Linked DNA regions of Homo sapiens: region 1 is linked to region 2. Evidence: promoter capture Hi-C in 16 types of primary human blood cells and fetal thymus (Javierre and others, 2016). All regions are on one chromosome and are shown on one strand. The core of a region is centred on a gene start or on the middle of the fragment in contact, and the rest is flanking DNA. Distances in the headings are between cores, read along the strand shown.

Evidence for each region. The method cuts DNA at HindIII sites, captures the fragments that hold promoters and counts their contacts. A CHiCAGO score of 5 or more calls a contact.
Region 1: a contact is called between a fragment that was not itself captured here and the fragment with the promoter of MAMLD1 in region 2, in 1 of 17 cell types (activated CD4 T cells). The highest score is 5.6, in activated CD4 T cells.

The regions. Positions count from the first base shown.
Region 1 is chrX:150,643,623-150,648,856 of GRCh38, forward strand. MTM1 (myotubularin 1) reads left to right here. Exons shown (of 15, transcript NM_000252.3): 9 at 2,061-2,249. Among named protein-coding and RNA genes, the nearest start is that of MTMR1, 47 kb to the right of the region's middle. The HindIII fragment of the contact is 1,316 bases long and covers 1,769-3,084 here.
Region 2 is chrX:150,360,554-150,365,656 of GRCh38, forward strand. It overlaps MAMLD1 (mastermind like domain containing 1), which reads left to right and starts at 2,764. Exons shown (of 8, transcript NM_005491.5): 1 at 2,764-2,977. The HindIII fragment of the contact is 7,703 bases long and covers 1-5,103 here.

The DNA.
Region 1 (5,234 bases), core at 1,177-3,676, 280 kb after region 2:
ATCTAGCAATATCTTGTAAACAACTTCCCATGTTGCTAAATATGATCCGCTCATATGCCAGTGTGTAGATGTACCATGATTTAATCAGTTTTCCATTGTGAGACATTCAGCTTCTGCTTAATCTTTTGCTATTGTAAGTAATGCTGTAATAAACATCTTTCAGTGGTTAGATATTTGTGTACTTAATTATCTATGGCTTCTAGATATGAATTTTAATAAGAATAATACAGTGCCATATACTGTAAAAGCACTCATGGTAGTTGACACTGTGAAATGAACATTATTTGTACCTGTTTAGCTCTGTAATAAGCATCCTTTTCAAAAAGTAGTAAGAATCCCCCCTCCTGCAAAGAAATTAAGAGGAGAAACAACTCAGAGGAGTAGCATTTCCTAACATGGCACCACAAAGAGAATAGGGGTCGGGAGGCCATTGCCTATGGCCCGACTGAAATTTACAACTTGATGAGGGTCTTTCTCAATAATAAATAATTTTTATTTTTAATAATTTCTCAAATTATTAAAATAATAAAAAATATTAAAAAATATTTTAATAATTTCTCAAATAATAAATCTTTTAAATGTGTAGCAAATTGCTCCTTTAAAGTGGTCTCATGTCTCTTGTCTCTCTTGATACCAGGGCCATAGAGGGAAAGGAAGGCAGATCTCATATGTGCTGTGCATTATAGATTGGAAGGTGGAGGTTTAGGTCCCACTGGTACCTTCTCCAAGGCTCCCAGTTCTGAGCCTTTGGACTCTTATTAGGCAGGGGCTACAATGGTGTTTTTAATTGATCTCTAGCATGGTGCAAGGACCATATTTGTTCTGAGAATGAATAAATATTACTGTATAATCTTTTCTCAATAACCTGTTGTCATTATAAACACTCATTTTTATAAACATCAATGTTTGTCATTTGCCATCATGGGGTAGGTAACTTCAGAGACATCAGGGAATTTGGTGTTATGTTGAGTGAGCCCACATGATTAAGCTTCTTTCGTTCTTTGTATCTGCATTTTGTAGTTTTTGCTAACTGACTTTCCTGGCTGCTGGGCCTGCCTCTATAAGCTAACACGAGCCAGTGTTTATTGCAGACTTTCTGGGCATTCTTCTTCAGGCCACCGAGCAACCCTATGAGATTATATTATTCTCCCCATTTTATGGAAGAGGAAAGGGAAGCCAGAGAAGCTGCGAGTGAAATGCCTGAGGTTAGAACCACGGCAGAGATGGCACTAGACCCCAAAGTCCACATTGTCGCCCACTGTGCTGCAGTTCTCCAGCTTCCCATTTTTAATAGCTTTATTGAGATCTACTTCACATACCAAACAATTTCCCATCTCAAGTGTACAATTCTGTCGTTTTTGGTATATTACATTATTAGCTACCTTTTACGTGTATTACTTTTCACATGCTATGAGCTTGGCAACCAGGGAGCAAATGTGCTAGACTTGTGTATAAAGTTAGAGAAGATAGGTTCTGAATCAGGGCTTGATGAGGTCTCCTAGGCATTGGATGTCCACACTGCACTGTGGAGACGAGCAGATCTATGCTCTTTGGGCTGTCCTGAGATCAGTTTTGCTCTGCTCAGGTTTTCTTCCTTCCTGTGTTAGATTCTAGAATTGAGACTGTTGGGAAAATGATCTGTAGACAGAGTTGGTATTATGAGAAACATATTGTACCAGAGACAATTTCCTTTACCTCTCACTTTTTGCCAAAGCTGCTTCTATATGATAACAAATCCAGTGCAAGCTACATAATTAAAATAGGATCAAGCTTTCAATTTCCTTTAAGTGATATAACTATTTTTAGGTAAGCAATTAATTTATATTGGATGTGGTGCTAATTAAGAAAAGACTGGTAATTGTACTTGTTTCTGAGTTATATTATTAAATGCATGTCTCTGGGCACACACACGCAGTGAGATTGCAAGTGAACAAGTATTCTATTTTAGCACAATCAGATTCACTTCTTGATAACCGTCAGTGCTTTACTGTTTTACAGTTTTAATTGTTTGCTTGGAGATTTGCTTTCTTGATAGCTTAAACTTTCTGACTTAACCATAGGTGCTGTCATGGATTCATCCAGAAAATAAGACGGTCATTGTGCGTTGCAGTCAGCCTCTTGTCGGTATGAGTGGGAAACGAAATAAAGATGATGAGAAATATCTCGATGTTATCAGGGAGACTAATAAACAAATTTCTAAACTCACCATTTATGATGCAAGACCCAGCGTAAATGCAGTGGCCAACAAGGTGAGTGGACTTAATGATGTGCTGGACACTTAGCTTACATATGGAGTGCAGTGTTTTCTGTGAATGTTTTTGCCATGATATAGAAACACGTGGGTTTAAATTAATAGTTAAGAAAACCAGTTCTCTTAGACAGAAAGTAGTTTTAATCACAAAACTTAAACAAAATTGAATATATCAAAATCAAATGCAAATAAACTTTAGGTAAATAGGCATGTCTAGACTGTAATGAAATTGGGTTTTGGCCAGGACCTTGGCAGGAAAAAGTTAGATTCTCTTTAAAGCCCTTTCAGCTGTGGATGATCACTCATTGTGTACACTATTGGGGCATCTGTAAGAAGCTATGGGAAGCTGTAATTATTAAAATACTAAATTTGCATGCTTACTCAAACACTCCCTCCCCCATACCCGTATATACTCACATATGTGTATTCTCATTTACATAAGATAATTCAAGAAATGAGTAGGTCCACGTATGTGAGTTTTCCAGGCACAAACATATACACAAAGTTGACCGTTTTCAAAGAAGTCTGTCTCAATTGACTTTTTGCTGTAAGCAGAATATGCTGAATGCACTTAAAATTGATTAGGGTCATCATGAACATCAGTGACTGCATAGTGTTGCCTTCAGAAGCTGCTGCAAGGTGTATGGCTGTTTGCTTGCTCTACTAAATGGCCCCAGATTGATGTGCATTTTACGTTCTATTTCTCCTTTTTGTTGTTTTTCTTTTCCTTCTCCTCCCATCATTGCTGTCACTTTCAAATGCTCACGAGGGGCCTGCCCCAAATTGCTCACTCCCATTCCAGCTTTCAGATTTATTGTTTCTCCTCTGCTGTAAGCTTAAATTTCATCATATTTAATACATTGCTTATCCTGAGGTTATTTGTCTAGCATCTTCAATTATTCAGAACATAAGACAAGAACCAGAAAGCAAAACAAGTTCTTGAGCAGCTCAGATAGGTGCAGCAGCTTCCTAATAGAATCTGTGATATCTGTCTGGACTAGGATGTGTCAGACTGCATGCATGCAGAGCTCAACTCTTCATTATTTGTGCACAGATCTTCTGTCCTACACATTTAATCCTGGGCCACCTCCCCATCCCCATGCATGCTTTTAAACCAGCTATTTGTTACTACGGTTGTTTTTTGGTCCAGAGATGATTTTGAAATTATATGTGAAGCAGTCAGTAAGTTAAATTGACAAGTAAATTAGGAATCGTAAGTGAAACACTCAGGAAATTAAATCTAACTCTAAATATCTTCTTGGATTGTCCTTAATTTTATATATCTGTGTACCTATTATCTTTCATATATATTTCAGGGTGAATATATATATATATATATATATATATAGCAATATTTTCATGTACATATTTAGCCTGAAATAGATATGATATAGCATTACAATGAAGTATTTACAAAGAATATTTTAGAATATTAAAATGCATGAAATGGATACACTAATTAAAGCTCATTCCAGCAACAGAATTCCTGAAGGCCTTTTTAACACTCAGGAAACAAGCTTCTATTTCTAGTCCTCTTAGGAGTCGAGGGAAGGAAAATATCAGGGAAAAAGCCTAAGCTTTACAGATCTCTGTCATTCTTTTAAAAAGCTCACTTGTTTCTCCCTTCCTCTGCTGTGTCTCTCCGCTAGTCGCTAATATCCATAGCAACAGGCCCGTAGACCTTTACATCATCGTCCTAGGTAATCTACATTGTTCTTTTTTGTTGAAGAAAGGAAAACCAAAAAGAATACTTCAAAAGTAACCAGAGATGTAGAATTTGAACTTTCAGGAACTCAGTGTGTGCTTGACTAATTGATTGTTGCCCTTTCTGACCTTCTGTTCTCCTTGGACCTAATTGTTCCTCCCTTACGGATATTTAGAAATTTACATCCCCAGATGCAACAAGCAACGGCACATCATTTTAAATTAAACAAAATCCAAGGATTGGTAAGATCTAGCAGCAAGCCGCTTCTATTTTTGTGGCGGTACATCGTGATGAATTAATGTGGAACTGTGCTAATGTCTGTTTTTACCAGAAACATTAGCGATGAGTAATAAAGTATATTTTTCCTTTTATTTTTTCACTTATTTTCAGTTATTTATGAAGAGAACTCTAGTTTCAAGAATCTCTTTGAAAATCACCATAACTATTTAAAAACCACATGTGTAGAGAAGCAGGAAGAGGAGAAAGTGGCCCACTTAAATAATAAATTGCTTATTTATTAGCTAATAACTTTTTTAAAACAACACTGTGAATGTTTACTGTCTACTTACCAGTGATACTATTTAGAGCACGCTCTAAAGAAATATTTCTGCCTAACTATATTTTCTTGCCTAGAGTCTTTAGAGACCAAGATCTCTGGCTTTTAACATAGGTCTCCAAGTTTGAAACCTAAATGGATGGTAGCCTTACTTCTGCAGGAAACCTTTTTCTGTGACTACCTCCAGGAAAAAACAAAAACAAAAAACAAAAAAAAACCTAAGTTTCTTTGGCCCTTCTATCCATGGCTACAAGCTTATATTCCTTCCATTGTTGTTAATAAAGAGAAAATAGGCATATTGTAGCTATGGCACATTTGTCTGGTGACTTCTCCTTTCCTCTTCAGCCCCAGGCAGATGTTTCCCTGTTCTGTTCCTACAGGCACTCTGGAGTTAGTATAATATTGTTTTCTTTGCAAGTCTCAGAACTGTTTAACTTTTTCTTAAAGGGCCAAAGGCCACGTGTTCTATGCCATTTCAAAACGTTTAAGCAGAATGCAGCCAGATTCCTAAATGAAACCATAGCATCTCTTTTTGTCAGTGTGGAAAATGGGCACTCTTCACCATGCTGTGAAGATGAACCAAAGCCTGCCCTGGCAAGTTAATACTTGTAGTTGCTGCAGTAGGCGGTAGCCATCTTGTCTCCTCTTGAAATCTTCTATTCTTTCAGAGCTCACTATGTGCAGTGCTCTCTCATTGGTGTTTGCATAGCAGAGAAATAGTC
Region 2 (5,103 bases), core at 1,514-4,013:
CAGACTGACATTGTGGATACATTTTGATGATGCAGATGGCAGAATTGTCCACTGGACTGGCTGTGAGGTGTGAGCAAGAGAGAAGAATCGGGGAGGATCCCAGGGCCTTCTGCCTGGGCAACGTGAAGGATGGAGTAGCCATGAACTGAGGTAGCAGACTATGGGCTCAGCACACTTGGGAGACGATCAGGAACTCGGTTCAGTCAGGCGATTTCTAATGGCCATCCAGGTGCTGGTGCCAAGCAGGCAGTTAGCCATCTCGCAGACGTGTGGCTGTGATATTACAGGCTTCTTAGGATGCTCTAGGGGAATGGGCATCATTTGTCCCACTGAGGAAGATGAGAGCAAGTGGTCCAAGGGTTGAGTGGAGGTGCTGGGAACAGAAACCCACCTTCCATCTCCTTGGCTAGTGCACTTGGAGGTTGCAGATAGAATTTTAAAAGCATCCTGCCAATGCTCCGTGATAGGCATGGCCATCTCCCATTCAGCTTTGTTTAATCAGATTTCCTTCAAGGGACTCCCGCACTCTCGCAGTTCTACCGGGGCACTGGCAACCCTGAGATGACTCTAGCTCTCCCTGGAGGGCCTTGAAGGTAAGGTTCAGTCACCAGAGAGCAATAACCTCTTCTGGCTGCTTGCCCTTTGCAGAGCAGACAGGACTGGACCCAGACAAGGCGGATTCCTTCACAACTGCCCTGACGAACTGTGTACCCCCAGCCTCGCCCTGTTGGGCTGGGCGCATCCTGGCAGCGCTGGGGCTGCGAAGCCACAGCCCCTGCATGTGCCTCGCGGTTGGGCCTGGACGCCGCTCTTCCTCCAGGTAACTTCGTGAAACGCTAGGAGGCAATCGCCCAGCCTCACTGCGCCTACGTAGCCCACGAAGGGATCTTGCTGGGTTCTCGGAGGTGGCCCCAGCGCTTTCCGAGGGCCGAGAGCGTGGGCGTGGAGGGAAGGAGGGGCCTAGTGGGCGGCGGGCCCACCCCTTTATTCGTGGCCTGCGGCTCCGCTGAGCGTGACCAGATGTGTTGGTGACAGGTTGCTACTCAGAGGTGCGGACAGGAGCTGAGCGCTGCTGCTGTCGGAGCAGACGCGGCGTTCCCGGGTTGTGCTCAGCCCCTGCAGCTGCCATCGGCTGGAGAAGTCCAGGTTAGGAAACGCATCCGGGGAGGGGATCCTAGAGAAGGGGCGCAGCCAAATACCCGGGAGGTGGGATAGGTGGGAGGGGAGTCGCTGGACTCGGCGCCAGGGCAGATGGTGGACAGGGCGCGCTGGCCCGCCCGGCAGTTCCCAAGGAACCTATGTTCCTGCAGAAGCCGCAGGTGTCCGTCTTGGGATAACTGCGGAGGGAGCCAATCCAGCCCAGCTTGGGCGGGAGCATCGCGTGCCCTGGTCCAGTGGAACGGGAGACTGGCCAGCGAGCCTGGACTCTGAGCTAAGCGTACTGGCGGGCGACGCCGACAGCGTCCGCGCTAAGGGTGGGGGACTGGGAAGTGGGGAGTGGGGCACTCGGCCGGGATGGAGAGAATGCAGTTCACTAACTGCCACCTGAGAGCCCTGGTCCCCGCTGCCGCCACAGCGGGTCTGTTTGGCAGTCAGGGCGCGAGCTGGTGAGCGGATGCGTGGGCGGAGGGACTGGCGCTACCCACCCAGCAGCCACCCACTGCAGGTGAGTGCCCCTCCCAGGGCGAGGGGAGGAGAAGGGCCTGGCCGCTAGCCCTAGGGTCAGGCTCTGGTGAAAATGGGAAGGGGGATGGGGGCTGAATAGGCTACTTTGTGATGAGACTCCCGTCCCTGTGACACTTCAGGGTCCTCTGGGGATCTGTCATTCCTCTTGCAAGCTCTCTTGTTCTCTGGTCCCTCTCCTCCTCTCCTTATTTCCTCCTCTCCTCTCCTCTCCTCTCATCTCCTCTCCTCTCCTCTCCCTTCATCGTGTCTCTACCTCTATCTCCGCCGGTGCCTCTCTCGGTATCTGTCTCTCAGTCTCTGCCTTCTCTGTGTCTCGTACGGTCTCCTGTCTTTCTTGGTCTCTCGGTCCTGAGCGCTCTCTCGCCCTGTCACTGATGACCGCTGGCTTTTGGCTCTCCGTGCTCGCTCTTCGTGTGTCCCGGCCACGCACGGCTCACCAGCTCGTTTTCCCCAGACGCGGAAAGTCTACCTTCGGCGTGCGGGTTTCCCAAGCGCGCCGGGCCCCGCCTGCGGCCCTCCGGCGGGCTCTGTCTGCTGGAGGCGCTCCGCTAACCCTGCTGTCGCCTCTTTCCACCAGCGCACCGCCTAGGCAAGCCAGCTGACGCCGGGGGCACAGACCACCCTCCACTGAGTGCGGAGCAGCCAAGGTGAGTGCACCGATGCCCCTTCCGCCCCTCCGATCCCTCCCCAGCTGCCCTGGTTCGAGCCGACTGGAGAAATGAGGCTGCAACAGCGAAGCCAGCCTGCGGCCGCTTTCTCCTCTAAAGACTGGTGGGAGGGCCCGGGAGGCCCCTCGGGCGGCCGCAGCTCTTTGGCTGCCCGCTGCCCCATCCCGGAGTGGAAACCCTGAGTTTCCAGGCTTCGGGCTGGCGGGGTCGCGGGCAGGGCAGCGCGGCTTCCCCTTTAAGGCCGGAGCCGCTCGTCGCCGTGAGTGTGAGGGTGTGTGAGTGTGCGGCGTGCGTGTCTCCTCCTCCCCGAGTGACACAGCAGTGAGAAATGCCTATCAGTAACTTAAACCCCCGAAACTCCACCTTCCGGGCGCGCGGCGCGGAGCCGGGCGGTGGGAATGGAGCGAGCAGATTGAGGCCGCCACTGCAGCGCCGCCAGCATGAACTTGGCCGCGAGCTGAAGCGGCCGGCGGCGGGCGGGCGCGGGGGCACCGGCCGCTAGCCAGGGGGTGATCTGCAACAGGGCTGGGTTCCTTGGCGGCCGCCTGAGTCCAGGCTGCCCGCGCCGGCGGCCGCCCGCCCCTCGGACACTGCCCCCGCCGCCGCCGGAGCTCTGCAGCACGGTAAGGCTGAGGGCGGGTGCAGGAAGTCTGACTGTTCTGGGGGTTCCGGGGTACACTTGTAGCCCCCAGTTATGGTCCCCATCGCTGAGGATCGGGGTCCCAGGGGTGCTTCGAGTCGGTAGACCCTAAAGTTTGCTCTGAGCACACGGCCCACCTGGCGCTGCGGGCGGCCACCCCCTTCTCGAACCAGCCCGGCTGGGCTGGGCGCAGCTCGAAACGCCGGAGACCACGGCCTTTGGCTCGGCGCCCGTCGGGCGTCTGAAATCCGGCGGGGACAGCCACGTACCGGGGAGGAAAGGTAGAAGGGCGCAAGCTCCTCGGGCTACGCTGGGCTACTGGGAGGCTCCCACTCTGTCCCAGCACCCCCGGGTCGCTTGCAGCCTGGGTGTCACCGGCGACGGTGCCTTCACATGCCAGCTGCCTGAGCCCAGGCCAGTAGGCAGTGGGCGCTGGATGAAGGATTTCCCCACCCCAACGCTGTTTGCCGCCTCTGAGCGAGAGTGTGGAGTGTGCGCGCCGAATCCGCTGCCCTGCACTCCCTCCCCTGCCAACTCCTGGGAAGCGCAGCCCGGAGCTGAGCTGGTGTTCAGGGCAGCCCGGACTGGGTTCCTGCGGAGCAGCCCCGGCGCCCCTGCGTCAGAGTCCGCGCTTCAGGTTCCCCAGCATCCGCGCGACGACAGAGCTGGGCGCCCGGCGCCGGCTAGCGCGGGCGGGAAGCCCCCCGGAGCGCCGCCAAATACTTTTCTCGGCCAGTTGGCTTGGCCAGGCTCCGTCCCAATGCAGTGTGTCCGAAGCCTCCTGGAAAGCTGGAGATGTCGTCTGATTCTGATCCGTGATTAAATTCGGACTGAGCAGACACTAATAGGATTAGCCTGCCAGAAAGCTCGGCCCTGAAGCCATCGGAACCTGTGCAAACACGCGCCTCGGGCTGGAGCATTCACTCCCGCCCCGCCGCGCTTCTGCAGCTGGGTGCGGCTGACCTGGGCACCCGGAGTGTGGGTGTGTGTGAGCGGGCGGGAGCACAGCGTGGCTGGGGGACGTGGGGAGAAGGGGCTGCTTTTGCTGGGGTGGCTTGTCGTTGTTGTTTGGCACCACGGTGCCCCCCGGGGGCGCGGTCCCCACGGTGAACGTGCTGCTCACGGGTAGGCAAACCCAGGCCGGCTCCGGGACATTGTCTGCAAGGGCGAGCGAGCCGAGCTTACTAGAGGCGGCTGCGCTGGAACAAAGGCGCAAAGTCTCCCTGAGACCAAGCAATTTTGAAAGAGTTGGCTAGGGAGAGGGCCTGGGTCTCCCGGGGTAGACCCCCGCGGGAATTGCGCCGCCCCCAGCGGCCCCGGCCCGCGCCTGGGGAATTGTGTTCCCTGGTTGCGGTGAGCCGGCGAGCGACATCGCAGCGGCGCGGCCCAGCTCTTGGCAGGCGTGGGTTGCCGCCCGAGTGCCCACCGGCCGGGCGGGGTCGACCGTGCACCCGCCGGGGCTTCCCGGCCGCCACCGCAGCTCTGGGCCCCTGGAGGCCGCGCAGCTTCTTTCCTTCCCTCCCTCCCACCTCTTCTTGTCTTTATAGATCCCCCCTCCCTCCCACCCCCGCCGCCGCCGCCGCCAACAATCCGCTTTATAAAAAGCCCCTTTGTTTCCCAGGAGGCTGGAGAGAGGGAAGGGGAAAAGGGACGCAGAGGCAGAGGGCGGGGGCGGCTGTCTCCAAGTGGTTTCGAGCCGCTCGGGACAGGAGGGCAAGTGTAGGCGATGGGGGAGGGGGCTGTGTTTCGAGGACCCTCTGTGGGAACCCACGAAGGCGCACGGAGCCTCAGCCCCGGCCCTCGCTGCACGCCCGGCCTGCCAGCCCTGGACACCCTAAATCCTGGCGGCCGGGACGGCCGAGTGGACTGCACTGCGAGCTGGCGGGCGCGCGCAGAGGCCCTAGGCTGCAAGCGCTCCGCGGGGTGGGCAGACGCGACTCGCCGATGCGCTCGCCGGGCTCGGGCATAGGGGGCGCCCTTTCCTTGGTTTCGCTTTGCAGCGGGCGCCCCTCGCCGCCGGAGCTCAGGGCAGCTGTCGCGCCCGCCGGTGGCTAAGACGGAGGCGGCAGCTCGGAGGCTTAGGCCACCCGCGTCTGGCTACACGCCTCA